3 separate regions of the Homo sapiens genome follow, and all the other regions are linked to region 3. Evidence: promoter capture Hi-C in human tissues and cell types (Jung and others, 2019). All regions are on one chromosome and are shown on one strand. The core of a region is centred on a gene start or on the middle of the fragment in contact, and the rest is flanking DNA. Distances in the headings are between cores, read along the strand shown. Region 1 has its middle 47 kb from the start of CPAP. Region 2 overlaps CPAP (centrosome assembly and centriole elongation protein). Region 3 holds the start of RNF17 (ring finger protein 17).

Evidence for each region. Contacts are between HindIII fragments. The study calls those that stand out against the background at their distance.
Region 1: a fragment that was not itself captured here is called in contact with the fragment with the promoter of RNF17 in region 3 in 4 of the 25 tissues and cell types used here (H1 embryonic stem cells, IMR-90 fibroblasts, heart left ventricle and 1 more).
Region 2: a fragment that was not itself captured here is called in contact with the fragment with the promoter of RNF17 in region 3 in 2 of the 25 tissues and cell types used here (H1 embryonic stem cells and mesendoderm cells).

The regions. Positions count from the first base shown.
Region 1 is chr13:24,968,426-24,971,981 of GRCh38, reverse strand. It overlaps the pseudogene TPTE2P1. Among named protein-coding and RNA genes, the nearest start is that of CPAP, 47 kb to the right of the region's middle. RefSeq lists an enhancer at 1,480-2,387. The HindIII fragment of the contact is 4,516 bases long and covers 1-3,556 here.
Region 2 is chr13:24,893,494-24,897,145 of GRCh38, reverse strand. The region is part of intron 9 of CPAP (centrosome assembly and centriole elongation protein); the gene reads left to right. Among named protein-coding and RNA genes, the nearest start is that of CPAP, 28 kb to the left of the region's middle. RefSeq lists an enhancer at 2,470-3,388. The HindIII fragment of the contact is 7,479 bases long and covers 1-3,652 here.
Region 3 is chr13:24,762,289-24,765,837 of GRCh38, reverse strand. It overlaps RNF17 (ring finger protein 17), which reads right to left and starts at 1,669. Exons shown (of 36, transcript NM_031277.3): 1 at 1,505-1,669. The coding sequence starts at 1,634. The HindIII fragment of the contact is 17,753 bases long and covers 1-3,549 here.

The sequences.
Region 1 (3,556 bases), core at 566-3,065, 210 kb before region 3:
TAGGAATAGTGACCCCTGCTCTTTTTTGTGTTTTGTTTGTGTGACAGATCTTTCTTCAACCCTTTACTTTGAACCTATTGGTGTTGTTACATGTGAGATGGGTCTCTTGAAGACAGCAGACAGATGGGTTTTGTTTTTTTAATCCAACTTGCCACTCTGTGACTTTATTTATTTATTTATTTATTTATTTATTTATTTATTTCAGAATCTCACTCTGTCATCAGGCTAGAGTGCAGTGGCATGATATTGGCTCACTGCAACCTCTGACTCCCAGGTTCAAGTGATTCTCCTGCCTCAGCCTCCTGAGTAGCTGGGATTATAGGCATGTGCCATCACGCCTGGCTAATTTTTATATTTTTAGTAGAGACAGGGTTTCACCACATTGGCCAGGATGGTCTCGATCTCCTGACCTTGTGATCTGCCTGCTTTGGCCTCCCAAAGTGCTGGGATTACAGGAATAGCCACCGCACCCAGCCCACTCTGTGACTTTTAAGTGGTGTGTTTACATTCAAGGTTACTATTGACATGTGAGCTTTTCACCCTATCATGAAATTGTTAGCTGGTTTTTTTGTACTTTCTATTGTATGGTTGTTTTATAGGGTCTGTGAGCTGTGTACTTAAGTGTGTTTTTATGATAGCAGGTATCATTCTTTCATTTCCATGTTTAGAACTCCCTTAGGCATCTCTTGTAAGACTGGTCTAGTGGTAATGAACTCTCTTGGCATTTGCTTCTCTAGAAAAATGTTTTTATGCTCCCTCTCCCTCTCCCTCTCTTTCCACGGTCTCCCTCTCCCTCTCCCTCTCTTTCCACGGTCTCCCTCTCATGCCGAGCCGAAGCTGGACTGTGCTGCTGCCATCTCGGCTCACTGCAACCTCCCTGCCTGATTCTCCTGCCTCAGCCTGCCCAGTGCCTGCGATTGCAGGCGCGCGCCGCCACGCCTGACGGGTTTTCGTATTTTTTTGGTGGAGACGGGGTTTCGCTGTGTTGGCCGGGCTGGTCTCCAGCTCCTAACCGCGAGTGATCCGCCAGCCTCGGCCTCCCGAGGTGCTGGGATTGCAGATGGAGTCTCGTTAACTCAGTGCTCAATGGTGCCCAGGCTGGAGTGCAGTGGCGTGATCTCGGCTACAACCTCCACCTCCCAGCCGCCTGCCTTGGCCCCCCAAAGTGCCGAGATTGCAGCCTCTGCCCGGCCGCTACCCCGTCTGGGAAGTGAGGTGCGTCTCTGCCTGGCCACCCATTGTCTGGGATGTGAGGAGCCCCTCTGCCTGGCTGCCCAGTCTGGAAAGTGAGGAGCGTCTCTGCCCGGCCGCCATCCCATCTAGGAAGTGAGGAGCGCCTCTTCCCGGCCGCCATCCCATCTAGGAAGTGAGGAGCGTCTCTGCCCGGCCGCCCATCGTCTGAGATGTGGGGAGCGCCTCTGCCCCGCTGCCCCGTCTGAGAAGTGAGGAGACCCTCCGCCCGGCAGCCGCCCCATCTGAGAAGTGAGGAGCCCCTCCGCCCGGCTGCCACCCCGTCTGGGAAGTGAGGAGCGTCTCCGCCCGGCAGCCACCCCGTCCGGAAGGGAGGTGGGGGGGTCAGCCCCCCGCCAGGCGAGACGCCCCGTCCGGGAGGGAGGTGGGGGGGTCAGCCCCCCGCCCGGCCAGCCGCCCCGTCCGGGAGGGAGGTAGGGGGGGGTCAGCCCCCTGCCCGGCCAGCCGCCCCGTCCGGGAGGTGAGGGGCGCCTCTGCCCGGCCACCCCTACTGGAAAGTGAGGAGCCCCTCTGCCCGGCCACCACCCCGTCTGGGAGGTGTACCCAACAGCTCATTGAGAACGGGCCATGATGACAGTGGCGGTTTTGTGGAATAGAAAAGGGGGAAAGGTGGGGAAAAGATTGAGAAATCGGATGGTTGCTGTGTCTGTGTAGAAAGAAGTAGACATGGGAGACTTTTCATTTTGTTCTGTACTAAGAAAAATTCTTCTGCCTTTGGATCCTGTTGATCTGTGACCTTACCCCCAACCCTGTGCTCTCTGAAACATGTGCTGTGTCCACTCAGGGTTAAATGGATTAAGGGCGGTGCAAGATGTGCTTTGTTAAACAGATGCTTGAAGGCAGCATACTCGTTAAGAGTCATCACCATTCCCTAATCTCAAGTACCCAGGGACACACACACTCTGCCTAGGAAAACCAGAGACCTTTGTTCACTTGTTTATCTGCTGACCTTCCCTCCACTATTGTCCTATGACCCTGCCAAATCCCCCTCTGCGAGAAACACCCAAGAATGATCAATAAAAAAAAATAAATAAAAAATAAATTTAAAAAAAAAAAAAAGAAAAATGTTTTTATTTCTCCTTCACTCATGAAGCTTAGTTTGGCAGGATATGAATCTGTTGATTATAATTTATTTTCTTTAACAATTCTGAAAATAGATCCCTCAATCTCTCCTGGCTTCTAAGGTTTCTGCTGAGAAGTCTGCTGTTATCCTGATGGGGCTACCTTTGTATGTGATCTGGCCTTTTTCTCCAGTGCCTTTAGGGCTTTTTCTTTGACAGTGACCTTGGACAGTCTGGTGAGTATATGCCTTGGTAATGTTCATTTTTTATAGTATCTCACAGGTGCTGTCTGGCTTTATTGTACTTAGATGTCTATCTAGCAAGATTCAATAAATTTTCTTGAATTATTCCATCAAATATGTTTTCCAGGCTGTTTTCTTTTTCTGTTTCTCTCTAGGGCATGCCAGTAATTCGTAGGTTTGATCACTTTACATAATCTCATATTTCTGACTTTCTTCACTTTTAAAAAATCTTTTTTCTTTATCTTTGTCTGACTGGATTAGTTCAAAAGACCAGTCTTCAAGCTCTGAAATTATGTTTTCTACTTTGTCCAGTCTATTGATAAAGCTTTCAGTTGTATTTTGAAGTTCCTTAAGTGAGTTTTTTTAATTCTAGAAGTTCTGATTGATTTCTTATTAAGATGTTTATCTCTTCCTTCATTTCCTGGATTGATGTAGAAGTTTCTTTTTGTTGATTTCAACCTTGAATCTCATTGAGCTTCCTTGCAACCCAAGCTTTGAAATGTTTATTGTCATCTCTGAGTTTTCATTTTGGCACGAAGCATTGCCAGAGAGCTAGTGTGATCCTTTGGTAGTGTCACTACATTCAGATTTCTCATGGTGCCAGAATTCTTGCGTGGGTCCCTCTCATCTGGAGATGCTAGCACTTCTAATTTGTGTAATTATTTTTGTTTGGGTAGGATTTTTTCTTTTTCTTTCCTTTTCTATAATATTATTGTTATTTTTTTTCTTCTTTCCCTTTCCCTCCTCTCTAGGGGGTGTGGCTGTAGAGCATGCTGGGTAGGGTCTTTTGGCTTTGCTTCTGTAGCCCTATGCACTTCTGCCAGCAGGTTTTATATTGGGTGTGTGGTTTGACCTACAAGCCAGTAGATGGCGCCATGGGTAAGAGCTGGCTGTTGCCAGTGCTGCTGGCTGTGTACTTGATCCTTGTTTATTGGGAGGAGCTCTCTGCTGCCCCAGGAATGGGCTGATTTCCTGAGTACACATTAATCTGAGCTCCCTCAG
Region 2 (3,652 bases), core at 960-3,459, 130 kb before region 3:
CTCAGCTCCCCAAGTAGCTGGGATTATAGGTGCCCACCACCATGGCTGGCTAATTAATTTTTAGTTCTACTAGCAATTCTTAGAGTGTTTTTTGTTCTCTACCTGATAGGTAAGAGGTTTAAAATTGATTTTAAACTTAATTGAATTTCTTTTAAACAATCTGAGTTATAGTTACAAATTTAGTATGGCTGTTTTTAGTGAACAAGACATATACTTGAACCAGTAGTTATAACAAATTCTGCTATCAGAAAACTTCACTAAATTAAAAACCATAGCCTAAAATACATGATGGGTTTGTCATTTCATTTTTCTTTCTGGATCTCCTAGGATTAGAGATAACCTTGCTGTGTTATGAAAATCTTACCAGATCCAAAGGGAAAAAATAAATAACCTCCTTAGACCACACAAGGTTGTGAGATTGATTGCTTTTTTTCCTTCTCTTTCTCATAGCTCTGATCCTGACTACTTCTTCCAAGGATTCAAACCAGAGCAAACACACTTCTTTTTGTTGTTGTACTTTGTTAGATGAATAACGTGGGTTTTCTTTTCTTGCAACTTGATGCCTTTCCCTCACAAGATGTGTCCTCTGATTCTCAGGCTCTGCAGTCCAGGCTGCTAGCTCTTATCCCTGTGTGGCTATTTCCATTTAAATTAATTAGAGGTAAATTGAAAATTCAGTTTCTCATTCCCATTAGCTACATTTCCAGGACTTAGTAGTAGCCACCTGTGGCTGGCTGGTGGCTGCCACACTGCACCATGCAGGACTGGGCACATCCTCACTGCTGGCAGCTCTGGGCTGTGCCCATTCAAGGGGCTTGTTGGGTGGCAAGGGGCTGGGCTGGTGAGTTGCCGTCCCTCTTCAGGAACTCATTCTTGAACTCTCGCCTTTGTTCGTTTATATGACTTCTGGTGTTGATTGAAGTTTGGACCCTGTTCGTACTTGGTTATCATGTGTAACCCTGGGTATTCATTATTTCTTGCTGGTTTTGGTGCAGTTCCTTTTCTTCCTTACACCATTTGGCTTATTCATAGTTCCCCGTATTTACCTTTCTTTTTACTTCTGTGCAAAAATATACTTTAAAAACAGATATATACTTAATAGAAAACAAACCTATGTTTATTGATACTCTATTAAATCATCAAAAAATTAAGGAGAGGGCATATTTAACCTTCCTTTACATTACAGTTATGTTGAAAAATATTAACTATTTTATTTTGGGTATTCATTCAGCAAATTTATTGAGAACCCCTTATGTACTAGACACTTGTAATCATTGAGGAATTGATGAGTTAGCAATTTCTGCCCTCCTGGAATTTATATTAATCATTACTGAGTCATAGCTTTTCACACACTCAGGTTACTCTAATTAATTATAAAATTTCCATTTTGATATTTAAGTGGTCCCAACTTGACCAGTGGGGGAGCCCCTTTAAGTCCATGGCTCCCTTGCCATTTAGTGCTGCCCTTGGCGTTTTGAGAGCACTGCTTTCTGGAACAACGGGTTATTTAAGACTGTTTGGTTTTGGCTTTCTTTCTTTATTTCCTTTCTTTCCTTCCTTTTTTTCTTTTCTTTTCTTTCTTTTCTTTCTTGACGGAGTCTCACGCTGTCACCCAGGCTGGAGTGCAGTGGCCGGCCCCTCCCGGCTTCACGCCATTCTCCTGCCTCAGCCTCCCCAGTAGCTGGGACTACAGGCACCCGCCACCACGCCCGGCTAATTTTTTTTTGTATTTTTAGTAGAGACGGGGTTTCACCGTGTTAGCCAGGATGGTCTTGATCTCCTGACCTTGTGATCCGCCCGTCTCAGCCTCCCAAAGTGCTGGGATTACAGGCGTGAGCCACCACACCCGGCCTTGGCTTTCTTTTTTAAACCTGCTCGGGGTCTGGCATCTACTGCGCTGCAAGGAGCCGGGCTCCTCCGGGGCTGCTCTGAGCGTAGAGCCTGTGGAGGTTGACAGAGCCGGCTGCGCCTTCCGCAGGTGCGGAGTCCCCTCGGCCTTCCCTGCCCTGGCTTCTGCGCTTTCTTCCCGTTTTCACGGCGCTGGCTCTCAGCCGTGCTCACCGGGACCTGGCAGCCGCCTCTGCCTGAGCCTTGCCCGCGGGACGTGGAGGCCTTGCCTCTGAGCTTTCGCGCTGCGCTGGAAGTCTGCGCCCCAGCCGCGGATCCCACCCGCCAGCCAGGCCTGCTGGCTTCACCCCGCAGGTCGTTTCCTCCTGCCAGTTTCCCCTCCCGGCTCCTCTCCCGTCTGTCTGGGTCTGGACCCTCACCAGTCCCCCAGCCTAGGGGCTCCCCTCTCTTCCTCTCCCCCATCCCCAGGGTCTCTGCTGGCTGGCTGCGGCCTCTCCCTCCCTTTGCACCCCGAGGGCGTGTCATCCTCCACCCACTCCATCCCCGTGTCCCGCCCACGGAGCCCACCCTCCGCCTCCGCCTTCTGTCTCCTCCGCGCGTTCTGCCCCCAGCCTTCCCATCCTTACCGCTGGCTGGCATTTCTTTAAACAAAACTCACTCAACCCCACAGCCCTATCTGTTTTTTCCTTTGCAGCAAAACTCCTTAAAAGCCTTGCCCATATTCACTGTGCCTGGATCTCCAAATCTCACCAGCTGTTTTCGCCACACGCCCTGCAGCGCGGCCTCCGGTCATTCTATGGCACTGACACGGCCCCTGTGGAGCCACTGTGAACCCCCAGGCCTCATCGCGGCCGTCTGCCAGTGTCCATCCTGGTGCCGTCTTCCCCTGTGCTTGGGCCAGAGGCCTCGAATCATTCTCGAGGCTTCTCTTGCTCTTCCATTCCTTGCTGTTCTGACAGAAAGTCCACTCAGATTCCAGTTGCCACCTCTGGGTTAATGACTTGCTGGCGGCTTGGCCTCCGCTCTTACCCCGTCCCTGTGGCGTCGCTCCACGTGACAACGGATCCCCTTCGCTCAGACACCTCCATATGCCTCTGCTTTCCTTCCTCCAAGAACCTCAGTCCCTATGTGACTGGGCCTTTTTTCCCCTTCCTGTCCCTGGCCAGTCCTCCTGCCATTTACTTGTCATCTGCGCTGGTCCCTTGTAGTGCTGGCACTGTGCCAGGCACCCTCCTGTTGCTTCCCACACGCGCTGCCTCCCCCAGCTCTGTTCAGTGACACCCAGCACGTGTCATCCTGCCTCCCCACACAGCCCCGCCACCTTACCTGCCCTGGCCACTCTCCCGTCACCCCCTCACCTGCCCCAGCCACTCTCCCATCACCCTCCCACTGTCCCCGGCAGAGTGAGCCTCATGAGATGGAGCTTTGTTCTTAGTATAATAAGGGCCTGTGACAGTGCCTGATAACAGATATTTTGTAAATATTAATTGCTCTTGAATTCTGAACCCATTTAGACTTGTATTTTACCATTTTCATATTAAATCCATATTCCTGCATGATAAAAGTGCTTACCAGAAATTTTTCTTTTATTGGTCATAATCCGTCTCACAAATGGGAAACCTGATATTCATGGAGGTTGTGGATCTTACCTTGTTTTAAGCATTCAAGTCAGAAAACTCGGATGTGAACCTTGATGTCACCCAATCCAAAGTCCACACCCTCTGTGGTGGGGCCCAGATGTCCTCTCCATCCTCACCAGGCTGCCGTGTGGCTGCCGCAGGGATTACTGAGGTGCAGGGGCATG
Region 3 (3,549 bases), core at 420-2,919:
GATAATATTGCCAAAGAAATAAAAACACTTAACTATTATAAAATTTCTGATACTGAATAACTCAAAATAACTTGTGGTGAATTACAGCTTAAAAAGCACTTTCAGGATTCTATATACATAACCACTACTTCTCCAGTTTAGTTTTTCTAAGCATTATAATACTAATGTATGGAAGAAGTACTCATTTTAAAAGGTTGTGTTCTAGAACTTTATTCCGTAATTTTAATTTCATTCAAAAATGGAAATTTTCTACGTAACGGTAGCAGTGATCTAAACCCCAAGTAGGAGAAACTTGGTTCTCCACTGAAATCACAACTTTTTCTGCAGAGGCTCACATCTCACAGAGTCCATCTTGCCAAGACTGAGAAAACTGATCGAATGACCTTAACTTTGAAAGTATAAACATTAAACAGTTACGCCAGGTAATACGAATTTTCAGTAGCTCCAGGAATTGAGATTCAACAACTCAGCTGTATTAAGAGCACACTAAGGTATTTTAAGTTACATTAAAATAACTTGAACCGGCCGGGCGCGGTGGCTCACGCCTGTAATCCCAGCACTTTGGGAGGCCAAGACGGGCGGATCACGAGGTCAGGAGATCGAGACCATCCTGGCTAACACGGTGAAACCCTGTCTCTACTAAATATACAAAAAATTAGCCGGGCGTGGTGGCGGGCGCCTGTAGTCCCAGCTACTCCAGAGGCTGAGACAGGAGAATGGCGTGAACCTGGGAGGCGGAGCTTGCAGTGAGCCGAGATCGCGCCACTGCACTCCAGCCTGGGCTACAGAGCGAGACTCCAACTCAAAGAAAAAAATAATAATAAATAACTTGAACCTGTGATCACTTGAGTAGATTGTAGGTGAACAGACCAATAATAGTGCAGTGTATTTTTCCCCTCACGTATAAAGACCAACACACACACACACACACACACACACACACACACACCCCACAAGGTGCACAAAAGAAACTATCATTTTCCAAACAGTGTTTTAGGCCAGTGTGAGCCATAATGTAAAAAACAAACAAAAAAACCCCCACAGAAACAACAAAATGCTAACAACAACAACAAAATCCAAAACCATTTCACAATGGTCTACTTGTTACTCCTACAACAAAAACTACAGGAGAAAATCAAGTTTCGTTCCTTCTTGATGACAAAACAATGGGCTACATTTTATGTCTACTTTTGCATGCACCCGCTAACCTGCCTTGTGAGGAGTAGATTAAAGCCACCCGGGCCCCCATCCTCCCGGCTGGAGGGTCGGTGAGGCCTGGATGGGTAATTGGAGAAAGCCGTGACAGGCGCAGGTGCTGCCCTTAACCAACCCAAGCACTGCCCTCTTAGAGGTCGGGTGCAGCTCGCGGGAGGCCTGTGACGCAGTTTCTGGTGACACCAGGATTGGATGCAGCTGACCAAGCCTCACGCGCCCACCAGCTCACCTGGCCCCCAGCGCTCCCTCCAGGCTGCCTCCCCGCTAGGTGGGCCCTTGGGCTCCTCACCGGATGATCTGGATACCCTCCTTCCACACCTGGTGCACTGGATTTCAGCGGCACCCCAGGGCTGACTCTTCCTCCCCATTCGCTGGTAGGAAGACCTAGAAGGCCCAGTCTTCGAAGCCTCTGCCGCCATCGCTGTCTCTTTCTTCTGGAACAACCGCCGAGTGCGAGTCCCGGCGGCCCTCGCGGCAGCGACCAATCATTGGAGGCCAGCCCCTGCAGATAGCCAAACAGTGGGCCGGGAGATTAAAGCCCGCCCCCAAGCTCGCTCCTGATGGGGCTGGGGCTGTTTTCCGTTATCCTGGGAGGTACCACTCCTAGAAGGGGCGCCTTGTGGCCGTTGAGGACCGTTCGTTTTTACGTTCTACCCAAAGAGTCACCACTTTAGTGCTTTTAGTCATCACAAATTAAAATTTCGCATATTATTACTTACATTGTGAGTGACTTTATAGATAATCATTTGGATTGAAACAATCCCCTTTCCCTATTACGTGTCAGGGCCAGAAGCCCTAAACCTGTGTGCTTCGGGCATCCAGGGCTTGGCCAATAGCAGCTGGAGTGGAGAAGCTAATGAGAAGCTATCGTTGGGGTAGATTCAGTGAACGCTTTCGAATTAAGGAGTGTTCATCATTACTAACTGCTGTTGAGCCTAATAATATACAAGGCAGCGTGCCAAGAGTGGTTGGGGATGCTAAGAATTTATGAACTAGCAGGTTTCTGCTTGAGAGATACATAACTCCTTAAAAAAACCCAGTAACTTCCGCCAAAATAAGTGTTATGTACCGGACCTGTGTTAGAGACAGTAAGAATTAGCCTTCTGGGCCCGGCGCGGTGGCTCACGCCTGTAATGCCAGCACTTTGGGAGGCCAGGGCGGGCAGATCACGAGGTCAGGAGATCGAGACCATCCTGGCTAACATGGTGAAACCCTGTCTCTACTAAAAATACAAAAAAAAAAAAAAAAAAAAATTAGCCGGACGTGGCGGTGGGCGCCTGTAGTTCCAGCTACTTGGGAGGCTGAGGCAGGAGAATGGCGTGAACCTGGGAGGCGGAGCTTGCAGTGAGCCGAGATCATACCACTGCACTCCAGTCTGGGCGACAGAGCGAGACTGCGTCTCAAAAAAAAAAAAAAAAGAGTTGAAGCAACTTGTCCAAGCATAGTTCACAAAAAGCAATGAAGAAATGAAGTCAATATGGTCTACGGTGGTATGAAAACTCTTCGTAGAGGATATAGGGTTTGCACTAGACCTTACAACCTAGGTAGTACTTACAGGAGTAAACAAGAACTAAGGGATTCCAAGAATAAAGAACACATCAGCGAGGGAAGGTAGATGTGAGGGAAGGTAGATGGAAGACACAGTGACTTCTTGAGAATTTAAAGACCATTTAGCCAGAGTATGAGTTTCCTTAAAGTAAGCTTCTTTGGAGAGGTGTGTCAGGGAAGAATTTCGGAGAATCTCGAGTGTAAGGCTGAGGAGTTTGGACTTTACTCTTTAAGCAGTAGAGTGCATGAGACGTTTTGTGAGCAAGGAATGAAGTAATCTAGTAGAAAGGTGGCAGGTGTATTTCAAACAAAACACCTGGAGGTGGCACGGTTGCCTTTTGCTGCTAAGAATAAAGCCTGCCCATATTCCTCATTTTCTTTTCTCTCTACACTGTGTGTGGGTAACTAGAAACTGTGAAGTAAGTATTCTCTTGAAAGGCTCACTTCGGCTCAAAAATCTTTGTAATTTGTTGTCTTCGAGAGAAAAGTACTGCTTCCCTAAATTACCCTCATTCTACTACTCATCCAATAGTTTCCACTACTAATCCATGATGGAACTGAGTACTAATCAAGCCAATATTCTCATGTAACATGTTGACTCTTCTACAGTTTTGTGAGTATTATTCCCTATTCCCCTCATCTGGAATACCTACTGTTCACTCTTCATCAATTCATATTCTCTTTTTTTTTTTTTTTTTTTTTTTTAGAAATGGAGTCTTGCTCTGTCGCCCAGGCTGGAGTGCAATGGCGAGATCTCAGCTCACTGCAACCTTGGTCTCCGGGTTC